Linked DNA regions of Homo sapiens: all the other regions are linked to region 1. The links are contacts of gene promoters, found by promoter capture Hi-C in blood cells and fetal thymus (Javierre and others, 2016). All regions are on one chromosome and are shown on one strand. Each heading gives the region's core, a stretch centred on a gene start or on the middle of the fragment in contact. The rest is flanking DNA. Distances are from core to core; before and after follow the strand shown.

Evidence for each region. Contacts are between HindIII fragments. The CHiCAGO score rates a contact against its expected background, and 5 or more counts as called.
Region 2: a contact is called between the fragment with the promoter of LCE4A here and the fragment with the promoter of LELP1 in region 1, in 5 of 17 cell types (M0 macrophages, endothelial precursors, M2 macrophages and 2 more). The highest score is 8.7, in M0 macrophages.
Region 3: a contact is called between the fragment with the promoter of LCE1D here and the fragment with the promoter of LELP1 in region 1, in 5 of 17 cell types (M2 macrophages, megakaryocytes, M1 macrophages and 2 more). The highest score is 7.0, in M2 macrophages.
Region 4: a contact is called between a fragment that was not itself captured here and the fragment with the promoter of LELP1 in region 1, in 1 of 17 cell types (M1 macrophages). The highest score is 7.6, in M1 macrophages.
Region 5: a fragment that was not itself captured here is called in contact with the fragment with the promoter of LELP1 in region 1 in 1 of 17 cell types (endothelial precursors); the score reaches 6.2 in endothelial precursors.
Region 6: a fragment that was not itself captured here is called in contact with the fragment with the promoter of LELP1 in region 1 in 5 of 17 cell types (M2 macrophages, endothelial precursors, erythroblasts and 2 more); the score reaches 8.9 in M2 macrophages.
Region 7: a contact is called between the fragment with the promoter of SPRR5 here and the fragment with the promoter of LELP1 in region 1, in 2 of 17 cell types (endothelial precursors and M1 macrophages). The highest score is 5.8, in endothelial precursors.

The regions. Positions count from the first base shown.
Region 1 is chr1:153,201,911-153,205,354 of GRCh38, reverse strand. LELP1 (late cornified envelope like proline rich 1) reads right to left here and starts at 1,925. Exons shown (of 2, transcript NM_001010857.3): 1 at 1,824-1,925; 2 at 235-668. The coding sequence starts at 647. The coding sequence ends at 351. It also overlaps a transcript of SPRR2G not described here. The HindIII fragment of the contact is 8,615 bases long and covers 1-2,911 here.
Region 2 is chr1:152,706,374-152,709,817 of GRCh38, reverse strand. LCE4A (late cornified envelope 4A) reads right to left here and starts at 1,658. Exons shown (of 2, transcript NM_001387222.1): 1 at 1,424-1,658; 2 at 384-763. The coding sequence starts at 742. The coding sequence ends at 443. The HindIII fragment of the contact is 2,492 bases long and covers 1,146-3,444 here.
Region 3 is chr1:152,794,936-152,798,379 of GRCh38, reverse strand. LCE1D (late cornified envelope 1D) reads right to left here and starts at 1,659. Exons shown (of 2, transcript NM_178352.3): 1 at 1,609-1,659; 2 at 199-607. The coding sequence starts at 585. The coding sequence ends at 241. The HindIII fragment of the contact is 8,213 bases long and covers 180-3,444 here.
Region 4 is chr1:152,818,831-152,822,274 of GRCh38, reverse strand. No RefSeq gene overlaps it. Among named protein-coding and RNA genes, the nearest start is that of LCE1A, 6.9 kb to the left of the region's middle. The HindIII fragment of the contact is 1,302 bases long and covers 1,111-2,412 here.
Region 5 is chr1:152,836,880-152,840,323 of GRCh38, reverse strand. No RefSeq gene overlaps it. Among named protein-coding and RNA genes, the nearest start is that of LCE6A, 4.3 kb to the left of the region's middle. The HindIII fragment of the contact is 379 bases long and covers 1,635-2,013 here.
Region 6 is chr1:152,857,283-152,860,726 of GRCh38, reverse strand. LCE7A (late cornified envelope 7A) reads right to left here and starts at 731. Exons shown (of 2, transcript NM_001395990.1): 1 at 696-731; 2 at 1-50. The coding sequence starts at 29. The HindIII fragment of the contact is 4,401 bases long and covers 1-3,444 here.
Region 7 is chr1:152,945,673-152,949,116 of GRCh38, reverse strand. It overlaps SPRR5 (small proline rich protein 5), which reads right to left and starts at 1,911. Exons shown (of 2, transcript NM_001395435.1): 1 at 1,869-1,911; 2 at 1-580. The coding sequence starts at 562. The coding sequence ends at 236. LINC01527 (long intergenic non-protein coding RNA 1527) reads left to right here. Exons shown (of 2, transcript NR_183723.1): 1 at 1-131. The HindIII fragment of the contact is 11,414 bases long and covers 1-3,444 here.

The sequences.
Region 1 (3,444 bases), core at 676-3,175:
TTATGGATCTCTCAGGCTTTGCTCTAACACAGCCTGGCATTACCTGGGTACACCCTTCAGAAGTGGGCACCTGCCTCTAAGCAGCAGGTGGGGTCAGAGGGAAAGTCAGTTCTCAAAGGTTGTTGAGAGTGCAGGGTTCTAGCCTCACTTCTCAGGGATTGCTTGTTGGTGGTTTAGTGCTGTAAAACAACAAACAAAACAAATCAAAACCCACCAGAAACACCAGGAGAAGTCTTGCACAGCAGAGGAACACGTTTACTTGTCAGTTCATGGTTTCAGTCTCCAGCCCCACAGCGTTGTACATGGTGGAGGTGGCAGTGGTGGTGGGGTTGGGTAGTGCCCACAGTGCCTCACTCTGGGGGAGGGCAGGGAGGTGGGCAAGCATGTGGGCAGGATGAAGGGCATTTAGGAGGACAGGGCTTGGTGCAGGGCTGGGGAGGGCAGGATGAAGGAGACTGCGAGGGGCAGGGCAGGCACTTGGGTGGTGCTGGACACTTTTCCCATGGGCACTTTTCGAAACAGCGTTGCAGCAGCTTCTTTAAACAGCTGGGCTGGCATTTGGACTCACACTTTTGTTCACACTTGGGATCGCAGTTCTTGGGCTCAGTCTTGGGGTCATTTGATTTACTTTTATCATCACTCGACATTGTTTCTTGATTATCTGAGCCCTGCAAAGAAATATGAGATGCATTGTAGGTGGGAGAGGATACCTACAGGCTTCTTACAGCTTATCCTTGTACTTAAGAAAGTCTTCCCTGAGATGCATTCAGGCTCTAGATCATCTTCTCATTTAGGGCCGCCCTCATCCTTGTATGAGTTTGAGATAGCATTTCTTAATCTCTCCACCCTTAACTCTGCTTCCTTTTCACTTATTCTTGCTTCCATGCTATAGACTCTAGTAGGAGTTCTTAACCTATGGTTTTGGACCCCCCACCTCCCCCACCCCACTGAAACTGTATTTCAGTAGAGTTGGTGTCTCTGTAACTCCATATGTTGTATTTAATTCATTTAGAAACATGATTCCAAGGAGTCCCTAAGTTTGACCAGATTGCTCAAGGCATTCATGGCACAATAGAAGTTTCGCTCCTCTAAGGCCACTTCCTGTTCCTCTGAAGATAGATGGGAGGTACACTAGCAGACTTGGGGGCCTAGGACACTGCTTTCAATCCTGTGTCCCACCTAAGTTCCCTGAACCTTGAGAATTGCTTTCTTTACTAGAGGCCATGGGAGGGAAAGTAATTTAATCCCTGCCATGAGTGGGTTCCCATGGGCTACTCTAGAACTGCCCACTCCTTTGTCTCCATCCAGGTTCTGATAAATAATAGGGTAAGGGAAGAAATCAGGAGATGAACCACGAAATTCCAATTTCTCTGAAAATCTGAATGATAGAGCCACAAAATGTGATTTTCAGAAGGGAATTCCTTTTCTCTCCTGTTGAGTTTTGCCCTGAGCTAGGCATTTCTGCACGGACAGTTTAACTCCTAGATATGGACAGGGATTTTCAGTCCCTCACAATACTTCAAGTTGGATCTAATTGGTTATATTTCTTTGATTTCTTTTAACAATATAAAAATAACATTTTAAATTTTGTTTTAAAATCAGTATAGCTCTCTGGGGAGGCATATTATTAAGTTGAACTCTAAAATTGTTGAGACTCTATTCCAAGGTGAAGCACACACCAGTTCTTACCACTGAAAATAACAGGAAACTTTCATTCAAACATGACTTTCCCAACCCTGCTCAGTGCGTGGGGTACTTCAGGTCACTCCCAGGGTAGAAGAGGCCAAAGAGTGGCCACTTCCACCTGTCCAAATGCAACTTACCCCTCTGTGTTGGTGGTGAACTTGACAAGCAGTTGAGTGAGGTGGATGTTATGGCTGTGCCTGGGAAGGTGGCTTTTCCCTTTGGTTCCTCTGCCCAGATCTGAGGAAGCTGGGGGTGGGGGCAGGGGAAATGACCTCCACTTATGAGGTCATTGCAGCATCATCGAGGGGCAATTGTTGTGTGACTCCATAGCTCCCAGCACAACAAGCCCTGAACACCAGAATAGAGCCATGATGAATCACCCCCCTTGGCTGTCCCACCCCTCCCTAGACCCCTCAACATTCAGGCTGGTAAAATGAGGCTGCAGTGAAGAGTCCTGGGCTCTGAGGATGGGAGGCTCATTGTTGCTGGGAGCAGAAAAGCTGGCCCACTGTTGACACATGGTCTCCAGCTCCTCTTCCACCCTCAAAGTTTAATTCCTCTGAACCTGCTCCTTCCCCACCCTTCTAGGAGAGCAACCCTGAATTGATCACTGCCATTTTGACATTCTTCTTTTCTTTATTTTTCTAATGTGAGATTCTGAAACCTCTTCTTACCACCCCACACAATTGGGTTAGCCCCAGATCCTGCCTTAGGGCACAAAGATTTGCCTCTCAGAATTCCTTCCTTGCCTTTTTTAAAGGCCTGACCAGGGTCTTTGTGGTTGGAATGGGGGTGTGTTAGGAGTGGCGATGGGAGGCTGGAGTGCGAAAGGTGGGTAGGCTTAGACACAGGGTGCCTGAACTCAGGTTTAGGAGGTTCATCGTGGCAGTCATCACGAATGAATCTCTAGTGACTTTTGATTAAAATTGTGACATGATTATGCCTAAGGTATTTAAATATTAGGATGGATTGGGAGATGGGGTGGTGAAGTAAAAGTCGAATGAGACTGTTTTAAAGAAATTATGAAAATCTCCACATCTGAAGGAAGGCAGTCATGGGTCTGGGTGCCCATGAGAAAGACCTCATTAGACAGGTAGATTCATGGGACTTATTTACTGACTGTGCAGAAAATTAAGAATTGAAGATGACTCCAGAGCAAAAGGGCTTCTTCCTAGTGTACTAGAAGGCAATACGATGACACCAGGTTTTTGAGAAAAGAAAAGCTTTTTACTGCAACTAGACCATCAAAGAGACAAGAGTTTAGCTTGAATCTGTCTCCCTGTGCTGGCTTTAAGGCAGTCATTTTATTGGGAAAGGTTAGGGATTAGATTCTGGTATTAGTAGGTGACTGGTGGAAGGAAAAGGGAGGGCTGGAAAAAGTCCTCGGGCATGGGAAGTTATCTCTTCATGCTACCTCATGGGTCACATGTGCAGTTTCGGGGAGGGTCAGTATGAAACATGCAGTGGAAATTTGGCTGTGACATCAGCACGCTTTTTCTGTGCAGACTCCAGTCTGCCAGATTGGCTCCAATGACTTCAGCCAATTTTGTTATCTTACAAATGGAGAGAGTTTCAGCATTTCAGCAAGTTGTTCTTTTTTTAAAATCTACTATCATGTAAACTCAAGAATTTGTATTAGTCACTCGTTTGTTTAACTCTTTGGGACAATGTTTCACCAGGTTTTGGGGTGTTAGTATTACTTTTAATGAGAGCTGAGGAAACAGGGGAACAGATTTGTGCTAAAAGAATATGGGTTTA
Region 2 (3,444 bases), core at 409-2,908, 500 kb after region 1:
AAATACTGCAGAATTTTAGATTTTCGTGAAGGTATGTGTACACAAATAAGTAATTCATTAAAGTTTAATTGGTTGATTTTTCTCTATTTCAGTAAAAGCTATAAATCTATCTTTCTATCTAGGAAAAGGATTGGGATTTAGGTAAAAGTGAAGAAAAGTGGAATAAAAACCACCATCAAACTGGGACTAGAAAATTACTTGAAAGTAAATTTACTGTTGCAAAGCACATCAGAAAATTTTTCAATAATCTGAGAAATATAAATATTGACATAAAGCTAAAATAATGCAAATCCAAGGCCTGAAGTTGATGAGACGCAAACCTGCATGTTTATTCAATTGATGGGGCTACAGAAAGGAAAGGCAAGAGAGTGAAGGAGGTAAAACACCAGGCTGCAATGGGTCCTTCGCCCACTAATTCCTTTGGTGCTGCTCCTGGTCCAGGTCAGCAACAGCCCCCTCCAGAGCAGCAGCCAGAACCCCCAGACTGCTGGCCACTGCCACTGCCATAGCAATTGGAGCTCTTGGGTCTGTGGCAGTGGGACCTATGGTGTCTGTGGTGGCTCAGGCAGCAGCCACCTCCCTCAGAGCTGCAGCAACCACAGCCCCCAGAGCTGGAGCCACAGCAGGAAGAGATTGGAGGTGGGCATGAGGATGCACACTTTGAGGGACATTTTGGGGGATACTTGGGGATAGGACACTTGGGAGGGGGCTGGCACTGCTGTTGGTTCTGCTGGCAGGACATCTTGGTGGGATTTCGATAAACCTGAATGACAAAATAGAAACATATACAGAAACTTAATATCAAGAGCCATTACATTTTTTTTTATTTTAAAATCCTCCCCCAAGGTGATGAAGAGGAATATCTAAAATATGGACATGTATAGAAACCTCTTTCAGACAAAGAGTATATCTTCATTACTTTTGTACCCCTAGAGCTTTCAAAAATTCTTAGTATTTGTTAGGTGGTTAATAAGTGACTTCTGAGCTAATAAAGCCAGCAAAATTTGAATGCCATCTCAAAGACATGTTAAATACATTGCAATTCTACCCACATGAATTTATCTAGAAATGGAATTCAGAAATTCGTAGAAAATCTGTTTAATAAATAATAATAAATTTGAGATCTGCACGGTTAGAGAAAAGCTTCCTTCAGAGCAATGGGCTTAGGACCAGCAGGCCAACCATTGGTAGGGATGTAGCAATCCCAGGTCATTCATCATCTTCCTGTCTGATCACAGGGATAATCCTTCCCAGGTTGGTTCCTGCTTTGTCCAGAGCCAACTACTACTTCTGGCCTTCTGGCCTTGTCCACCATGTCATCCTCCTCCTACTCCACGCTTCACTGTTCGACTTCCAGAATTACTCTCCATCTCCATCTTCATCCCGCTAGCGTCCCCCTCTGGATTCCTATAGAAACACTCACCGTGGGTTCAGACGCAGCAACAGATACGTCCCTTAGGAAGCAGAGCAGATGAGAAGCCAGCAGCAGGAACACACTTTGTATGGATCCTGGGGCTGGGCCTCGGATGAGCCATGCTAATGGCAGGAGCAGGACGTGGCTGTTGCACAAGTGTGGGGTCATGCCTGACATTCTCCTGCCTCCTGGTTTCATCTCTTCCTGAGCTGGATGATGAGCTTCCCAGATAGCCTCTTCGGCACTAGTGGGAGAGGGGGTGACTATATGAGACTTTCTGTAAATCAGACCCTTTTCCCAGGCTAAGGTCTCAATGTACAGCAAACAGAGGGGTTTAAGGCTATGGGTACTTACCTTTCAAGCCTCCCTCTGAACACGCTTTGCTCAGTCCCTCAGGAAGAACTTTGGCACCAAAGGCTCCAAGACTGCCCCACATTTAGCCCCTAACATATTCCAGCCAAATTTCAGCCAGAGGCTCTGGGCCTTTCCCAGGTCAGTCAATCCTGAGAGGCTGGTTTGGTGCCATAGGCCTCCTTACTCTTTTAGAGAGTATCTCCCATGCTTTTAGACCAGGCCAAGTCCCCAGTCCTAACTGTGGAGAGAGATGCCCCTCGGTCAGCCACTCTTCTCTTTAGAATTTCTCTTCTATGAACCCTTCAGCCTGGAATTCAAAGGCTATCATATTTGACTACTTCTATTTGGGTTACCAAGGAATGTGTCACCATCAAGGGGCCTTTTGAGTAGGAGTTTCTGAGTTTTTCTGTTGTGTGTTGTGTATGTGATTCTGCTGCATTTAAGTAGCTCATGAGCACAGATCAGAGACTTGAGACTTTTACCAATTCAGGAACCTTTTGTGGAAGTATCTGTCTGTCAACTACACACACACACACACACACAAGTTGCATTTATTGCAACCATTTTTTAAAAAAAGGACTGATTTTTTTTCTTCAACAAACATATAAGAAGATCATTATGAGGAAAATATTTTTCCCATCATAGAAAAAACTCTTCCCTTTTACCCATCAAAACACTCTAAACCAACAAGAAAAAGAAATTTGGTGTGTGTTGCTCTAATTCTCAAAAGGTTTATATAGGATACAACTCTTCATGCAACCCATTAAGATTGATTTATTTCTCCTTATGTATATCATATATGTTATACGTATATACACATATAATCACGAGGTACTTCTGGAAATACCTACTATGCAAAATAGATGTCTAACAATGACAAAAGTTAGCTGATATTAATGAACATGAAGACATTGATAATGATGACAAGGAAGATGACTAAACCCCCAGCCTATATTTCCTCTCTGTAAAGACAGAAATTACCTACTTTTATAGTAATTTCTGCTATTACTAACTCAGAAAATGAGTATTAGACAGCAGGAACGGAATTGTTGTGGAAGGCAGATTTTCTGGCAAGTATTATTGTAGGAATGTCCTCCCATTTTCCATCTCTCTCCCAATCCAGTGCCCCATGTTAATGGTGTTTCTGGCAAGCAAATCATCAGCTATAGAGGGATGTGGTAACAAGCAACAACCTACCACATTGAGCTCTTAATCTGTGACCAGCACTGCCTCAGTTATGTGAGAAATACAATGAATTAACCTTGTTCCTGTCCTCAGGACCTCAGAGTAGAACTGGAGAGAGAAACAGAAACACCTGAGAAGTTAGATAGTGATGCTGAACCTCAACACAAGAGAAACACGGTGTGATTAAAGGAAAATTTCAGGGTTGACACCAGTGGTCCTAGTAGGCAGTCCTAAAACAAAAGATGCCAGGACTCAACTGTAGACAAATTAATTCAGAATTTCTGGGAATAGGGCCCCAGCATTGGTGTTTTTTAAAAGGTCACAAGTTGAATGTGTTGCACAAACAGAGATGAAAGCTATTGGTGTAGCCCTACTCTGCACAATACAGTAGCCACTAACCACATGAGATGATAAAGCCCTTGAAATATAACTTGTCTGAATTGAGATGTGCCATAGCATGACACTGAGTTTGAAGACATAAAATTGTTTTA
Region 3 (3,444 bases), core at 410-2,909, 410 kb after region 1:
CTTCAGTTCAGGCAGCACAGAATACAGTAGCGTGAGCTGGGGAGGAAGTAGGTGTGTGCTTTGGAGTTCCCAGGGCAGCCATGGATCTGCAGAAGAAAGTCTCTAAATGCCATTAAGGAGAAAGATTTTGGGTTTCCTGACACCAGAGCAGAGGGATTCTCCAGGCAAGACTTCAAGCTTTTGCTGGAACCTCTCAGCTATTCAGGCAGAATCAGAAGGAAGAGGAAGTCAAGGTCCACTTCAGCAGCAGCCTCCAGAGTGCTGGCTGCTGCCCCCACCGCAGCAGCTGGAGCCCCCCGAGGGCTGGCTGCAGCAGTCAGAGCTCTGGGGTCTGCGACGGTGGGACCTGTGGCGCCTGTGGTGGCTCAGGCAGCAGCCACCACCCCCAGAGCTGCAGCAGCCCCCAGAGTTGGAGCCACAGCCGCCCCCAGAGCTGGAGCCACAGCAGCCTCCGGAGCTGACACTGCAGCAGGAAGAGACTGGAGGGCACTTAGGGGGACATTTAGGGGCGGGGCACTTGGGAGTGCACTTGGGAGTGCACTTGGGAGGGGGCTGGCACTGCTGCTGGCTCTGCTGGCAGGACATCTCGGTGGTGGGTGTTCAGGAGCTGAGGGAGAGTCAAATAACAAGTCAGACCCAGGCAGAGGCCACCTCTGCCCCTGTGACACTCTTAGCACCTCTCAAGTTTAAAAGCATCATCTTCAGTAGTTTTATTTCCAATAATTTCCTCAAAATCTCACATCATCTTTTTCAAGATATCTTTGGATGTCAGACAACTGTAAACTAAGACTAAACAATATTGCAAAATGCATCTAAGATTCTGATGTGTTGTCAGTGGAGGAAGAAATTATTACAAATATATCTTAAGACTGAAATTGTCTAATTTATGAGTCATTTAAGAGAAAATTATTTTTAAAGGAGAAGAAGCAGTCATTCTCTCTGGTCATAATTTGCAAGACGATTTTACTTTGGAAGGTCAGCATTGTGCAGGATCTTGGAGACTACTAGGTCAGTAAACTCACTTCAATAGAGACAGATAAACTTAGCAGTTTCTGCAGACTAGTACTTGAACCCTGACCCCCTGATCTCAGGTTGGAGCTCAGACTTCCTCACTCACCACCTGCTCAGGCTGATGGGATGACACGGTGGGTCTCAGGCTTGGTGTGTCCTAACCAAGCTGGGAAGTTTGTGAACAAATCTCAGACCCATGAAAATGTGGGGTTCATAAACCCCAAAGAGTCTTTAGTCCCATGTCCACAGCTCCAGTTCTTCCCTTGCAGGCAGAGACAGGGTTGTATCTTCAGAGGTGGGCTTCCCTCCTGTGGGCTGCCAGAGTGGAGCAGGTCTCTGTGCTTCAAAGTTCCCACTCTGGAACACCCACCTCATCCCAGAGCAGTTTGTTTCCTCTAGAGTTCAAAGGCACATGGCACAGCCCGCCAGCTCTTTTCCTCTTTTCCTTCCTGCTCCCAGTTAGTGCCAGACCCCTTTTGGCCCCCGCCCCTTCAGTCTTTTCTAAACTCTCCACCTCTGACAACATGGCCCTAGCCCCGGAGGCCCTGCCCCTCCTTCCCTCCTGCTCTGTTCTGAGCATCCCTGCTCTGTTCTTACCGGAGTCACAGGCAGCACAGGGTTCTTTAGCACCTCAGGAGGTGAGTGGATGGGGTGGTCTGGCCCTGAGCCCTTTTATCCTGGCCTGGGCTCTGCCCCAGCTGTGAGACAGGGCCTGGGCATGAGAGGACCTTCCTTCTGACACCCACGTGGGTCTTGTGATGGTTGGTGACTGACAGCTCCTCACCTGCCTCTCTCCCCAGGCTCAAGGCAGCCACTCCCAGGTAGGAAAGTGCCTACTTGAAACGGGGTTCCAGGATGACTCCTACCATCACCTACCTCATTCACTTGAAGGCTGCTTGCCCTGAGAGCCTCTCAGTTCTCAGTCTTAGAACTTAGGACCTATCTCATTTCTGTCTCTTCCGAAGTACCTGATGCTCCGTGCAGCCTGGGTTGAAGTTGAAGTACTAATCCCTGAGGTTTCCATGCATGTTTATTTCTGTCCCTGTGCACCACCAAACTGTGTGGCTGTGGGTGCAGTGTAGACATCTACACAAGTAAAACCCTGGAAGTATAACCCGGCCCAGGACCAGGCCCTGCGAGATGGGACTGTTGAAACTATTTAGCCTGTACCATTTTTTAAACCATAAAGCTGGAAGATGAAAAAGAATTAGTTACAGAAGAATTAGTTGGTTGTGAAAGTCAATAAAGTAACACAAAAAAGAGAAAATGTGCCTGACAGAGAGACTGAAACATTGTAGGCTCTGAATAAGTGAAACATTCATAACTTGCTGAATACAGAATGAAGATACTGATCTTTGTTTAACAAACGAAGCACAGCTTTTTTCTAATGAGAGTGAGTCTGGCTGTTTGGTGATCTGTTTGCTTTTAAATAGCCCTTTTCTTCTGGTGGGGTCCTTGATGTGTCAGCACTGAGATGTGAACAAGGAAGCAGCTCATTAGAGAAACAAGAAGCAGCAGCTCTGCTCTTTGTATTGGTGTGAGAATTTGGACTTTTCTGGGTTCACACTGGGAGCACCGGATGATGGTCACAGATGAGAAACAGGAAGAAAAGAGACATGGTTGTGAGACATTATAAGTCTACGCTTCCATGTGGGGTCAAATGGCTGGCAGAACCCCGTCCTGGACCATAAGGGGACGGGTGCCTTTTAAGAACAAGAGTCCTTAATATTTAATGTGAATGTGTTTATGCTGCTACTTTGGAAGCCCCTCTCCTCTCTCTCCACTAGAATCACTAGCTTTCTACATGTCCACAGGATTTATATGAATGGAGTGTTCTGAATTTATACATTTTTAGGATATTAATGAAATGGGCTGCTGTTCATTCTAGGACACACTAGTCACTAAGACAGCCATGACTGCAAGGTTATCCACAAATTAAACTATTTCTTCAGAGGAAGACCAAGAAAAGCCAGATTAAACCATATGAGGGACAAGTCCTCTTCTTCCCAGCCCCTGACAGACTCTGGATATGCCCAGAACTTGGGAATGATATCTAGGTCAAAATGGACATGGTGACCCTAACCAAAACGTGGTGGAGATACATGTATATTTATAAACACATATACAGAGCATACATATTGAGAGAGATGTATATGTGTGTGTACCACCTGTCTCAGAGCATCAATTATTACAGCTGCCCAGACTCCTGTGATAACGTAGTATCTCCAAACACTGTAGTGTGTCTTTGATTCTGTTCTTTTATGACATCCAAGAAAACATCTTCCATCCCTGTACATAATTAACACTAAATCATTAGTAAAGTCTTGTTCATGATTGCACACTGTATAAGGGTAAATGTCCAAATTCCTTCAGTGAAATAAGACTCTGTGTTCTCCCTTTAGTTTAAGCCTTTGTCATCTACTCTCAGAAATG
Region 4 (3,444 bases), core at 512-3,011, 380 kb after region 1:
GTAGATCACTTTTAGAAAATTAAAAATACAAATTATAACTAATATAGAAATAAGTTATAAATAAAATATAGCTAAGTACAAATAAAGTATAGTTAAGTACAGAGGAATTGTTACATTTTTAACTTATAAATAAATTATAAGTTAAGGATAGATAAGCACAGGAAAGTATATGCATTGCACAGGAAGGAAAAACACAAAATACAGAATAATGAATATCTCTAGGTAGAAGGGATATATAAGGGGATGGTTTCAATCATATTTATGATTATTTATTTCTCAATATGAGTGGAAAATACATGCATGCAGTGTTTACCAGGAAATCCTTTTAAGTTTGTATCTGTGTAAAATATTTTATTTAAGAAATTTATACATATGTAAAATTTAACACATACTTATATAGTAAGGTATTACTCTATTATATTTCATATATATTAAAATATTTCAAAAAATTATTTTACTTAATTTTGTTTTCCTCTTCTCTAGCAAAATATTTAATTTAATATGCATGTATTTGTGCTTATTTTTCTTTATAATTTCTTTAATTGTTTTTATATTGAGAATGTTTTTCTCAATCCTGGGAGAAGATAAACATTTAGCTACAAGTACTTCTTTCTTTATAATTCGATTTCCTCAAAATATTTAATCCCATGGATTTTGTCTTGGCATCTAATACTAAATGAGGGTTTACGTTTTTTTTTCAGTTATCAAAATTCCCTAACTCCAGGTATTGAATAGCCATCTTTTCCCCATTGATAACCATCACCTGCATCATCATATTTTAATTCTTTGTGTATATATACATATATATAGAGAGAGATTTAATAGTATATATATGTATACATACATATGTGTATACATAGATACGTATATGTGTATATATACATACATATATGTGTGTGTGTATATATGTGTATATATATATATATATATATATACTATTACATTCTTTTTTTTTTTTTTAAATTTGCACCAGTCTCAAGGTTTGGGGTTTAATTATGTGAAAGTTACAGATAAGTATTTTATCAGAATGGGACTTGTGGTGGATAAGAAAAATCCTCTAGATTTCCGGCAAACAAAAGGAAGAAAGAGAATTTCCTAGGACTAGAAGCTTAGGATCCTGCCCTCTTTGTCCTTTCCCTGGGAGGAGCCTGCAGGTGAGTCCCTGATATGGGGGATATACAGAATGAGGACCCGACTCTTCCCTCAGGAAACATGGAGGAAATGAAACCAGTTTTGTCATCTAAGCAAAGATGAGTTTCTAGTTCCTCTGCAAGCATGGGTCAAATGATGCATGAGTGCTTTCTATGACCAGATGTTGATCACATTGTCAAGACCAACTGTTCTTAGCCATTTATCCACTGTCTAAGAGAAGATTCTGGAACCAAGGCTGAACTTCAAGAAATTCACCCTGGAGAGGCATCACTCACATCACAGATAGAGGGGAGACACTAAAATGCCCAAGAGTGGAGGAGTCAGAAATTGGATTCTGCTTCCTGGTTGCTCCAGTATCAGAAGGATATTGCGCCTACATGTCAGACTGAGCCTTTTCTTTGTTCTCCATTCAGAAAATACATTTAGAAAGCTGGAGAAGGACAGACATTAGGTGGGGAATGAGTAGAAGGACCAGGCTCCCTTTCTCTGGTATGGTGGGCCAGCCCACTGGAGCAGGGATATGGGCAAATATGCCATTCAGTCAAATTTGGGGCCGGGGAGAGTGGCTTGTGCCTGTAATCCCAGCACTTTGGCAGACCGAGGCAGGCAGACCTCTTGAGGCCAGGAGTTCGAGACCACCCTGGACAACAGGCAAAATCCTGTCTCTAAAAAAAAAAAAAAAATACAAAAATCAGCCTGGCATGGTGGTGTGCATCTGTAGTCCCAGTTACTCAGTAGGCTGAGGTGAGAGGATCACTTGAGCCTAGGAGGTTGAGGCTGCAGCGAGCCATGATTGCACCACTGCACTCCAGCCTGCACAACAAAGTGAGACTCTGTCTCAAAAAAAAAAAAAAAAAATCAATCAACCAACCAGTCAAATTTGGCGTTGATATTGTTTTTCTGACTGGATATTTCATTACTGAACTGAAACCAAGTTTGTAATTTTTTTGTTTTAGAAATGGGGTCTTGCTTTGTTGCCGCACCTGGTCTCAAACTCCTAGGTTCAAGTGATCCTCTCTCTCGGGCCTCCCGAAGTGCTGAGATTATAGGCAGGAGCCACTGCACTGGGCCCACGTTTGTGATTTCAAGTAACAAATCATTTTGCATTACTTTGAAAGAGCTGTAAAGTCAGTTGGCCTTTCAACTTGTCATTTAGGAAGGAAAACCATCCCACTGAGTAAAATTTTAAGGACAATTTTACTTTTAAAATTTTTAAATTTTTAAAAAGCTATAATTTTATTACATCCTCCAAGCTAAGCTTGCTCAATGTGAGGGTTGTAGACAGATTTTTTAACATCCACCAGCTTAAGAAAACACACAATCGGATAAGATTTCATAGAAGGATGACATTTGAGGTGAACCTTAAAAGAGGGACAGAATTACACAATGTCCAGATGGTGGGGAGAGATTTGGAGGAACTTCAGATAGAGGAAATAGCAAGTAATGCTGCTAATAGTAATAGTAAGTAATGATTACAGTAGTTAGTAGTGATACTAAGGGTAGCAGTAGTAGTAGTGGCAACACTTATAAAATATCAAGAGAAGCTACTCTTTATTGAAGACTTATAGTATTCTAGATACAGAGCTATGAATAGTAAATTCTACTTACAGCTTCTCAGAAAAAAAAGGATGAATATATACAAGTGTAAGTTATGAGTTGCTCAGTGCGGCAAGAACATGGGGTGTCATGGGAAGTATGAATGGTAAACCTTAGAAAAGAAGTTGGAAACAATTCCTGCTGAGTCTCAAATGTAATACTTAAGAAGCACATGCATTTTTCTATAGAAAGCCTCTGTTTTGAGGAAGTAGAGTGACAATTTCAGACATGTGGTATAGGGAATGTGTTCTGGAAAAAAGTGCAGAGAATTTAATGGAGATGGAAGAGGAAGAAAGAGACATTTAATGGAAGGTTAATACAAGTGCAATTTTTACACAAAGATATGCCTCGAACTAAACTGATTTCAGAAGTAGTTAGTGGGAAAACTGTATTTTCAAAATATATTTCTGTTTTTTGCTTTCTATTTTATTAATCTATTTTTCTTTTCTTTTTTCTTCCATATGCATGCATCCATGTGTGCATGCGTGCGTGTGCACCTGTACTTGTGTGGAAGTGTGTGTATTTGCATGTGATGTGTGTGTATGTGCATACATGTGTGAGGGAGGAAGGATGTTGGGTGGAGCTAGGTGAGGAGGAGAAGGTGGCGCTCACAGAGGGAGAGGAGCATGGAGAGACCAGTCAGGGCCTTGAAGGGGACCAGAGGCAAAGAAGCTGTGTTTACAAAAGACATTTCAG
Region 5 (3,444 bases), core at 575-3,074, 360 kb after region 1:
TGAAGTTGCTTGGCTTCCCATGACTGGGTTTCTCTTTGGTCAATTTCTTTCTGATATCTCAAATCATTTAACTATTCCTGAAGTAACTCCTCAAATATATTTTTAAAATCTCTTTTATTTTGCTTTATGTTTTTAATGAATAATTGCCCTGACTGTTAAGTGTTCATTCAGAACACTCTGATGTCTTCCGGATAAATCTAAATTCCTTTAGCCAGCATTCAAGTCCCTGTGTATACTCGAACCTATCCCATCGCTTTATGCTTAACTTCTGGAACTTCCTTTCATTATGTCTCCTCCTCTGCTGAATGGATGGATTTATTGTATGGTGAACTGGCTTTTATCCTGTCTGATGTCCGTCTGTCTCTACCTCTCTTTCTTCCTCCCTTTTCCACTCTATCTCTTTGTCTTCCTCTTATTTCCTCAGCCTGCCTGCCTTCCTTCTTCCTCTCTTTTTTTCTTTCTTCCTTCCTTCTTTTTTCTTTCTTTCTTTCTTTCCTTTCCTTTCTTTCTTTCTTCCTTTCTTTTTTCTTTTCTTTCTTTTTCTTTTTCTTTTTGTCTTTCTTTGTGTCTTACTTCTTGTCTTTCTTGGTTCCTCTTCTGAGACTACTTCCGAGGGCCAGTTCAAATCCCGTGTTCTCTGTAATGAATTTCTAGACAATGCCTGGCTGAGAAAATCTTTCAGAGCATTTATTACTTGTTATACATATAATTTATTATCATAAACAATTGTACTTGTATGTGATATTGTTAATGCCTTGAACATGGGGCTATTATCTGTATATCTCAAGCCCCATTTCAGTGTACACAATGGTTCATTACAGTTACTAGTTATTAGGTTTGTTAATTATTAAGTTTTTAAAAATCCCCATCACAGATGTTTGCAAAGAACTTTAGTTTACAGAATGCTTTTCAAATATTATGTCCTGAGTCAATTAATTCTGATGAAATACAGACTCAGGCCATGATGAAATCAGACACTTACAGTGAGTTTGGGATTGTCCACATCACACTGTGGGCACCTCAACTATATTTCCTGAACACTATTATATTTTTACTTAGACTGTGCCAAAGAGTTTAGTTTGAGGGGAGTGTTCATGTCCTTTGTAGGGACATGGATGAAATTGGAAATCATCATTCTCAGTAAACTATCGCAAGAACAAAAAAACCAAACACCGCATATTCTCACTCATAGGTGAGAATTGAACAATGAGATCACATGGACACAGGAAGGGGAATATCACACTCTGGGGACTGTGGTGGGGGGGGAGGGGGGAGGGATAGCATTGGGAGATATACCTAATGCTAGATGACGAGTTAGTGGGTGCAGCGCACCAGCATGGCACATGTATACATACGTAACTAACCTGCACAATGTGCACATGTACCCTAAAACTTAAAGTATAATAAAAAAATAAATAAATAAATAAATAAATAAAAGAAATCTATATCATGTTTTCTACAGGTACTTCTTATTTTAGAACCCAGCCCTGCTCATGTTTTCTTAGGAAGAAAGGCCAAGAGATCTGGTCCTACCTCTTTCCTCCAGGTAGGATGGTATCCAAACCACCAATTATCCTGACTTGTACTCAAGACTATAATATCATCAGAACTGGCTTGTTAATCTAGGCCAAGCTTGTTCAACTCCTGTGGGCCCCATGTGACCCAGGACGGCTTTGAATGTGACCCATCACAAATTTGTAAACCTTCTTAAAACATGAAATTTTTTGTGATTTTTTTTAGACCATCATCTATTGTTAGTATTATTGTGTGGCCCAAGTATTAATAGTATTTTATGTGTGGCCCAAGACAATTTTTCTTCTTCCAATGTGGACCAAGGAAGCCAAAAGATTGGATGCCCCTGATGTAGACCATTGGATATAAGTGGTTTAGTTTCCATTTCAATAGAATAAATTGTCATTGGCAAAAGAAGAGCTTAGTGTAGTGTTTTCTTCATCAGACGAGTAAGTCTCTTTTTTCCCTTTCTCATCATCCAAAGAAAGAGAAAAGAAAGCTTCTAAGATTTAGAAGAAAATAATTAAAACTGTGTCCACAGCAGGAAGGGGAACATCACACACCGGGCCTGTTGTGGGGTGGGGGAAGTGGGGAGGGAAAGCATTAGGAGATATACCTAATGTAAATGATGAGTTAATGGGTGCAGCACACCGACATGGCACATATATACATATGTAACAAACCTGCACATTGTGCACATGTACCCTAGAACTTAAAGTATAAAAAAAAAAAGAATTAAAAATAAATAAATAAATACAAAAAAACTGTGTCCACAGCTTAGGTTGTTCACAACTCTATGTTAAAAAAACTTTTAAAGACTAAATTATAAAAGAAATCTATAAATACATAAAATCTCAATTCAGAGTATTTTCTAAAAAGCCTTATGGAAAACCTAAGACAAATTAAATAAAAATCCCTTTAGGGAGGACTTTCAGAACAGTGGCATGAAGAACTCCTTGGACCCTTCTCCTAGCAAAATAATTAAGACTTGAAAAAAAAGTTTTGCAATCATCCTTTGCAAATTGTCCTAAGGGTATAGAGCAAATTAAAAAACTTTTATTCAAGAAAATCTACTAAATCATAGTAACAATAACAATAGTCTGTGGCACTTGAATCACAACTTGCACCCTCCCTAATCTCTTCCAGTTGGGCATGATGCTAGCTCCACTCTTGGAAGATGCAATCAATGAGATAAGGTTCCATCCCCCTTTAGCTCCAAATCATGGCCTCCAGTGTCTTCCTGTGAGGGGGAGGCTGCCAACATTTCTTACACCTCTTCCCTTAGTTCTGTGGTATAGAGGCTAAATTCCAGGAGGGGGACTCTAAGAGATTGGGGGCTTTCTTACTCCCCATCTCCCACTCATGGGGCAGGCAGTCACTCTACCTCAGGTGCAGCAGGGCAAGAATATTGGGACACCAAAGTCCTTTGTCCCAGCTCACTTGTAGGGTGGAGGATCGATGGTGGGAGAAACAATCCAAGAAGAATAGTGGTTGCCACCCCATTAAAGTGTTCTGCTCATTAATCAGCAGTGAGCTCCAGGAGACATTTGCCCTCAGCTCAAAAGCAGTGGCTAAGAGAATTTGTCCAGGGAAGAGGATGTCCAGAAAACCCAGAGAACTCCAAAGTTCTCACCAAAGGAACTGACTATATTTGGAAAAGAGTGTGGGGACGTTCAAGCTTAAAGGCACTTTGGTAAATGGGAGAGATTTTGTTGGCAAGCATTTAAGAAGAGGCTGTTGAGTCATAAGAGCAATATGCTAAACCATAGGGCAGCTTGTTTACCAGAGAAAACCAAGGAAAGTGAGGGCTAAGTAGAGTCTTCCCGAGTTTAGAACAAATTTCAAACCTGGCCTCAAACACTACCCTTGAAAAGGGGCCTAGACTTAATTGGCTTCAATTATGAAGCAATTTCTGTTTGTGTTCTAGGACAT
Region 6 (3,444 bases), core at 449-2,948, 340 kb after region 1:
CATTTCTGCTGGTGTTTCTGATAGGACATCTTGGAGAAAGTCCAGTTACTCTAAAAAACAATGCAAACATTTCAAAAGTCTAATTAATGTAAACCTTGTTTGTATCAACATTTTTCTACAGAGCCCGAAATTCTACAGTTGAATATGTGGCTCCAGAAGCCACATCATAATAGCAGAGCAGCCCTGCTTTCCTGACATAGGAGAGATTCAGCAGTGAGTAAGTTAGAGTCTGGTGACATCTTCTCTTGTGCCTGGCCTGATTCTCTCAAGACTCCTGACTTCAAAGGCAGTTGCTTAGGGCACTATGTAGTCCCCCAAATCTTCACTTACTTATTATCCTATCTTCTAATTTATGCATTCTAAAAACCACATTTTTAACCTGAGTCTATGGTTACGTCACCTCTCATCATCATCTCCCTTTTTTTCTTTCTTGCATCATGAGCTGTACCTTTAGCCCTACTCTTCAGCCCTGCGTGGCTGTCTCTTGCCCTACAAACACTTGCACTGCCCCAGTCTCTGGTTAACTTCACTCCTTCTGGGTTTGCTGCTTCTGAACCACCTCGATGATTGCCATGAGCCTGGTCTTCCTGGAATTATCAATTTCCATTCTCTCCAACTTTGAATGGCTTTTCCAAAAGGAGGTGTAGCAGCCCTAGTCATCCCCAAACTGCCATCAGATCAGTAAAAACACTCACCTTGTCCTCTTAACCCTGGGCAAACGATGGGACTACGGATAGATACACTGTGAGCGGGAGCCTTTTATACACACACTGCATTCAACTAGAGAGAATGAGCCACAGATGATGTGAAAACTGTTTCCCAACCAGGTGGTTGTGATGTCAACTTCCCACATTCCAGTGGCTCTGTCATTCTGTCACTTTGTCACCCTGTGTCACTAACAGATCCCCCAGAGCATCCTTCCCCTTCATAAACTCTCACAGGATTTCCATAAAGATTAGAAGATCATGACTTAGAAGGGTATTTATAATGACATAGCTTGGGAATTGAAATTAGGGTTTCTGGAGGAATCCAAAACATGACTGGGCATCTAAAGTCACAGATGTTAGATCAACACAGGCACTGATCGGGGTTTCTGCAGGCATTATCAATAAGATGGGAACCAATAATCTAAGCACACATGGGCCAATACTGAGGGCTCAGTGTATTTGATTCAGATACCAAAGTGCCTAAAATATTGATCAACCATGTGGCATCATAGAAAGTCCCAGCTGCAAGCGGATTTAGGATACTTCCACTCTACGTAGGTCAGGAACATATGGCCAGAGGGGGCAATGGAGACCTCAAAGTTGTGCAGAGTCTGAACTAGAAACCATATCTTCTAACTCTCTGAGATCATCAATTCAGGCCCCCATTTCACAGCAGCCCCTTCTTTTGGATTTGCTTGGGTACATCCACTAGGATCTAGTCTCTCCCCTGCCCACAAGCTCCCTCCTTTTTTCATGCCACTCCCCACCCAGTTCACTTTTCTTAGTTCATTGTTTCAACTACTCTTTTGCCAATATAATAAACTTTCTTTTGTTACCCATTTGGCTTGTCACTGCATTTGACTGGCAAAGCCTTATCCCTGGCTGAATTCTCCCTGTTGTGCCTAGTTGCTATAAAAATGAAAACAAAAATAGACATTTTGGCAGGATGACACCATCATAAAATCACCATCATCCACCTTGGCTGGTCCAAAACATGGCTTGGTGATCCCCGTATACCTCCCTGTATTCACCATGCACATACCTCATGGCTTTTCTCCTCCCTTGAATCTTCCAAACCTTCACTACTGCCTCTAGATAGATGGTACTGCCTCTACCATATGGAGCAAAGAGTTCCTGTCAAACATAAAGCACTTCCGCTTCCTTCTCCTAAGTCTTCAAGCTCACTTACATCTGCAGCCATCCTTCATGACTTCCTGTGTTACAGGGGAGGAGTGGCCCCTTGTCTTTTCCAACACCTATCCCTAGCCCTTTTCTCTGGATCCTTGCACCTTCAATCTCAATTGTATTGTTTCTCCTATGAAATGCTCCCATGGCACCTTGTATTTCTGGTAACACTTGCTTGTATTTGTTTTTCAATATCTGTCGTCCTGGATAGAATGAAATCTCAGTGTTCATGGGTTCACTCTTTATCTCCAGCACCTACACAGAATCTGACATAATGTAAGTGCTCAAAAGTATTTGTTTAATGAGTTAATGGGTGATCTGTGGTTGAGGCAAAGGTCTCCCCTCCTTTCACTCCTTGAGAGAGAGTAGCCTGGGAGGCCAGGTCAGTGGCAGGCCTGTGGGGCAGGTGTGGGAAGCTGCTCCAGGGATGGAGTCAGCAGCAGGAGCTTTGCACTGTGAGTCAGTGCTCTGGTCCCTGCTCTGCTGCTCTTTCTGGGTTTCAGGAGAGGCTGGACCAGATTATCTTAGGTATATCTTCAAGTAGGTATTTTTATTTATGAGCCTCAGAACTCCACGGAGCTTACACTCAGCACAGGTCTGATCTTGTCCCTGAATATATTTTATCTGGGATTGGAAGTGGCAGTGAACTTGATGAAGAGGGTGGAGATGATGGCTGGAATGTTGACTATGCCAGGGTGTGAGATAGTTGAAAGTAAGTCACATTATGAGGGAGGAACTCCATACAGTCTATTCAGTTTCTCCCACTTATCAGAGGAAATGACTTAACATCTTGCCTTGTTGTGCCAAAGCAGAGTATAGTGTATATATGTGGTTCTCTTCTGGTTGTGCCTCTTCTGGCTCTTCTTCTGAGCCACTGAAGCCCAGATCTGTAGAGATAGGCAAAATGATGCTCTTTCCCTGTGATATTTCTGACAAAAAGTATTACAAGTATATTTAAAAAGGTTGGAAAACACCATTTTATTGTGTTGGTCTAATACCCATCAATGACCTTCTGGTTCAATAATGAAGAATTATTTATGTCCACAGAAACTCCTTTTTTGTAGTAACTTTTCAAATGCTACTTTAAAGATGTTAATTCATTTGTTGAGTGCCTGATACTTGCAGAGTTTTGTGAATTCAAAGAAAATTAAGATATTTTCTTGTCCTTAGAGAATGGTCCAAGTGAGATAATATGAGAGAAAGAAAGGGAATTAATATTTATTCTTTAAATATGTTATTTGAATTATCATAGTATAATAGCTTTATGGGTGTCTTTTTGTTAATCTCATTTTACAGAAAAAGTAAGGCTCCTGGCTCACACCTGTAGTCCCAGCACCTTGGGAGGCTGAGGCGGGCAGATCACCTGAGGTCAGGAGTTCGAGACAACGTGGCCAACATGGCAAAACCCTGTCTCTATTAAACGTACAAAAATTAGCCAGACATAGTGACAGGCACCTGTAATCCCAGCTACTTGGGAGGCTGAAGCAGGAAAATCACTTGAACCTGGGAAGTGGAGGATGCGGTGAGCCAAGATAGCTCCACTGCACTCTAG
Region 7 (3,444 bases), core at 662-3,161, 260 kb after region 1:
AACCAGATCCTTGTCTGAGATGGAAACTGCAGCTGCTAATTAAGAAGAGTAGAGCTCGAGGAAGCCGCCAGCTGCCAGCCTGGTGCTGCCTCTCCTGCAAGTGTGAAGTGTGGCTGCATCCAGAAGCACTGGTGAGCAGGGCTTTGCTTGGCCTGTGGAGTGTAAGATGCTGGCCCAGAAGGAACTTCATGCTCTGTTTTTCCTGGGGGTTCGCCTCTGATCACATGCCCAGGGCTTACTTCTGCTTGGACGTCTGGCACTGCTGAGGGGGTGGGCACTTGGGGGCACAGGGCTCCTGGCACTTGGGTGGGGGCTGGCAAGGCTGCTTGGTCTGTTGGGGTGGGGGGCAGTACTGCTGAGGTGGAGGGCAGCACTGCTGGGGTGGGGGACAGCACTGCTGGGGAGGGGGGCAGCATTGTTGAGGCGGCGGGCAGCACTGCTGGGGTGGGGGGCAGCACTGTTGAGGCGGGGGGCAGCACTGCTGGGGTGGGGGGCAGCGCTGCTGGGGTGGGGGGCAGCACTGCTGCGGGGGAGCACACTGCTTCTGCTTCTGCTGAGACATTCTGGGCTGGACTTGCAACTGGAAACAGAAAGACACAGAAATGAGGAACACTTGAGCCATAGAGAGACCCTAAGCCCAGGTGAACCCCCTGCCACATTCCTGTCCTGCTCTGCTTTTACCTTGCCCTGATCCCTTCACAGATTTAAGAGGAGTGTGTGTGTGTGTGTGCGCGCGCGCATGTGTAAACTTTAAGTGTTTACAAGTTATTTCAACTCTTTTCAAGACAAAGAAACATGGAAGGAAGGAAAGATAGGAAAGGAGGAAGGGAGGGAAAACAGAAATGTTAGGAGGGGTTGAAAAGAAAGAAAAACATAAAAAAAGAAAAGGGAGAGAGAGGAAAAAAAAGAGGAAGAATGAAAGAGCAGACTGTTGTATCCTATTATAGCAAAACCTGTGGCATCTGGAATAAATTGCCTGGGATCTGAGTTCTGGCTAAATCATTTATTAACTATATGATTTTGAGCAACTAAGGTTTTCCATACTTACCTCTCTTAGAGTTGGTGCAAAAATTAAATGAGTATATAAAATACATACTTAAAATATGCATGCATACGTAGGTATGTATGTACCGACACACACATGCAGAGTAGTAGCACAAAATGAACACTATATAAGAGTTGTAATTTGTTAAGTAAATTCATAAACAATTTAAAAGGCGCATCTTAACCACTCTCTAAAGGAGTTTATAAAGAGAAAACTCTAGAGATAGATGAAATGGACTATCTAGCTTGCCTCTCTCAATTACAGTTGAGGAAAGCAAACCTCAGAGGGAAGGAATGGCTTCAAAGCCACTCGGCATAGATGGTGGGAAAAGAGGTCTCCTGATTCCCAGAGCAGAGCCTTCCATGGTGCCACATCGTCTTGTCCCTGCAGCCCTTTGCTCCATGGACATCCACAACTCTGCTGTCCCAAGGGAGTCTGTTCTCTTTCCTTCCTGCCTTCTCTTTTCTTTGAAAGGACAGTCCTTCCAGTTGCTCTGCCCAGAACTGGTCTCTCCTCTCCTACTAATTCCCTCTTAGCACCTGACAAGATGCAACACCCACACCATGCCAGCAGCATCGCTGAGATACTGACCCTCTTGTAGATACCCCCCTCCTTCTCCCTGCTCAGCCCAGCCTCCCACACTACTCTGCTGGATAACTTGCTGGACCCAAGATAGGTTTGTCACAAATGATATGGAAAAAAGAGGTACCCCAAAAGACCCATCCTTTCTGACCACCACCCAGAGAATCAGCCCAGTCCATAGTTGGTTAGGGATGCAGGCAAGGCAAGGCTGCTATAAGAGGTACTACCTTTCCAGACTTACCAAGGTTCACCAGCGACTGGAGCAGATAGGTGTGGAGGGGTTTGGGATGCTCTGAGCCTATCTACCTTTTATATACCTCTCATCCCTGCCTGAGGCCATGAGGTGGCCCAGGATTGGGGTGTCCTAATTAGTCCCTAGTCACAATAGGATCCACCTGTCCTTCCTCAAATTTTAAGTTTTACTCACCCCCAGGGCTGGTATGGCGGGATTTGGAGATGACAGTGCCTTCACCCTCCCCTTGCCTCATCTCCCCATCATTTTACGAGGACTGGCTTCCTTGGATTTCCAAACCCACTCATGACTTTTGACTTAGATCCCTGGCATCTAGGATGGTCCCAAGCAAGCATTCCGACCATGCTGGGTGTGGGGGTGTGAGGGCAGTGTTCTGGGATGTTCTGGTTGGCAGAGAGGAGGGGATGGGACAGGCAGCTTATGCAGGTAACATAAGAAAACAGCTGAGGGGGCAGATGGCTCTCTTGGAAACCCACCACCCTCAGCAAAGTTGTGACTTTGACTTGACCTAGGCTCAGAGTCACATTCAGCTTGAACTGGTGGGAAGACAAGACAAGAGGCTTTCATTTTTTACCTATTGTTATTTATACAAGAAATGGCAGCTGCCACTCTCTGTCTGTTCTGCTATTGGGAAAATCGTTAGGCCCCATTCGGGGAAACTGGTTGGTTACAGTAGATAGTGCTTATCTCTAAATCTCCCTACATATATCACATATCCATATGACTCCAGGGTTCCCAGGGAAATGATTATCATAAGGTGGAGGGGGTGGGGGAAGCTAAGAAGCATTGCATTAGAGTGAGCTCATGGAGGAGTCACAGTGACTGGATTCTGGGTTCTGAGCTCCTGGGGCCCCAGTCCTGGCTCTTCCTCCTAACTTCTGTTAGAAGTTCCAGGACAAAGAAGGGTGGCACGGGATACAGACTTGGATGCTTCCCATACCTGGCAAAGGATGGAGCTCATCTTTAAAAAATTCCCAAGTGGTGCTCAGACTGAGGCTCTGCCTTTTACCAGTTGGGTGACCTTAGGAACCAGATGTTTTTGCACTTCAATTTTCTCACCTGCTAAAGAGGGTAACAGCACCATTCTGCATGTCAGTTGTAAGGATTAAAATGGACAACTTATTTAAAGTATGTGCAAGTGTTTGGCACAAAATGCATGGTCAACAGTCGTTGGGTGCTCCATGGAGATGGGCTTTGAATACTAGGGCAAGACACACTCTTAGAAATATGGAATAGGAAGTTGAAAAAAGTTGGAGGCAAGTAGTGGCACTTGCCACCCAGTGTCATAAGCTCTTGGTTGAAAGAGACAGGAGGAATAAGTTCAAGGAATCCACTGGAAGTCATGTTGACTATAGTTAATAACAATATGTGACATGAAAATTGCTAAATGAGTAGATTTTAAGTGTTTTCGCCACACAAAAATGATACATATGTGAGGTAATACATGTATTAAATAGCTTGATTTAGTCATCCCACAATATATTCATATATCAAAACATCACATTGTACACTGTACATATATATAATTTTTACTTTTCCCCTAAAAATACATTAAAAAAGACTT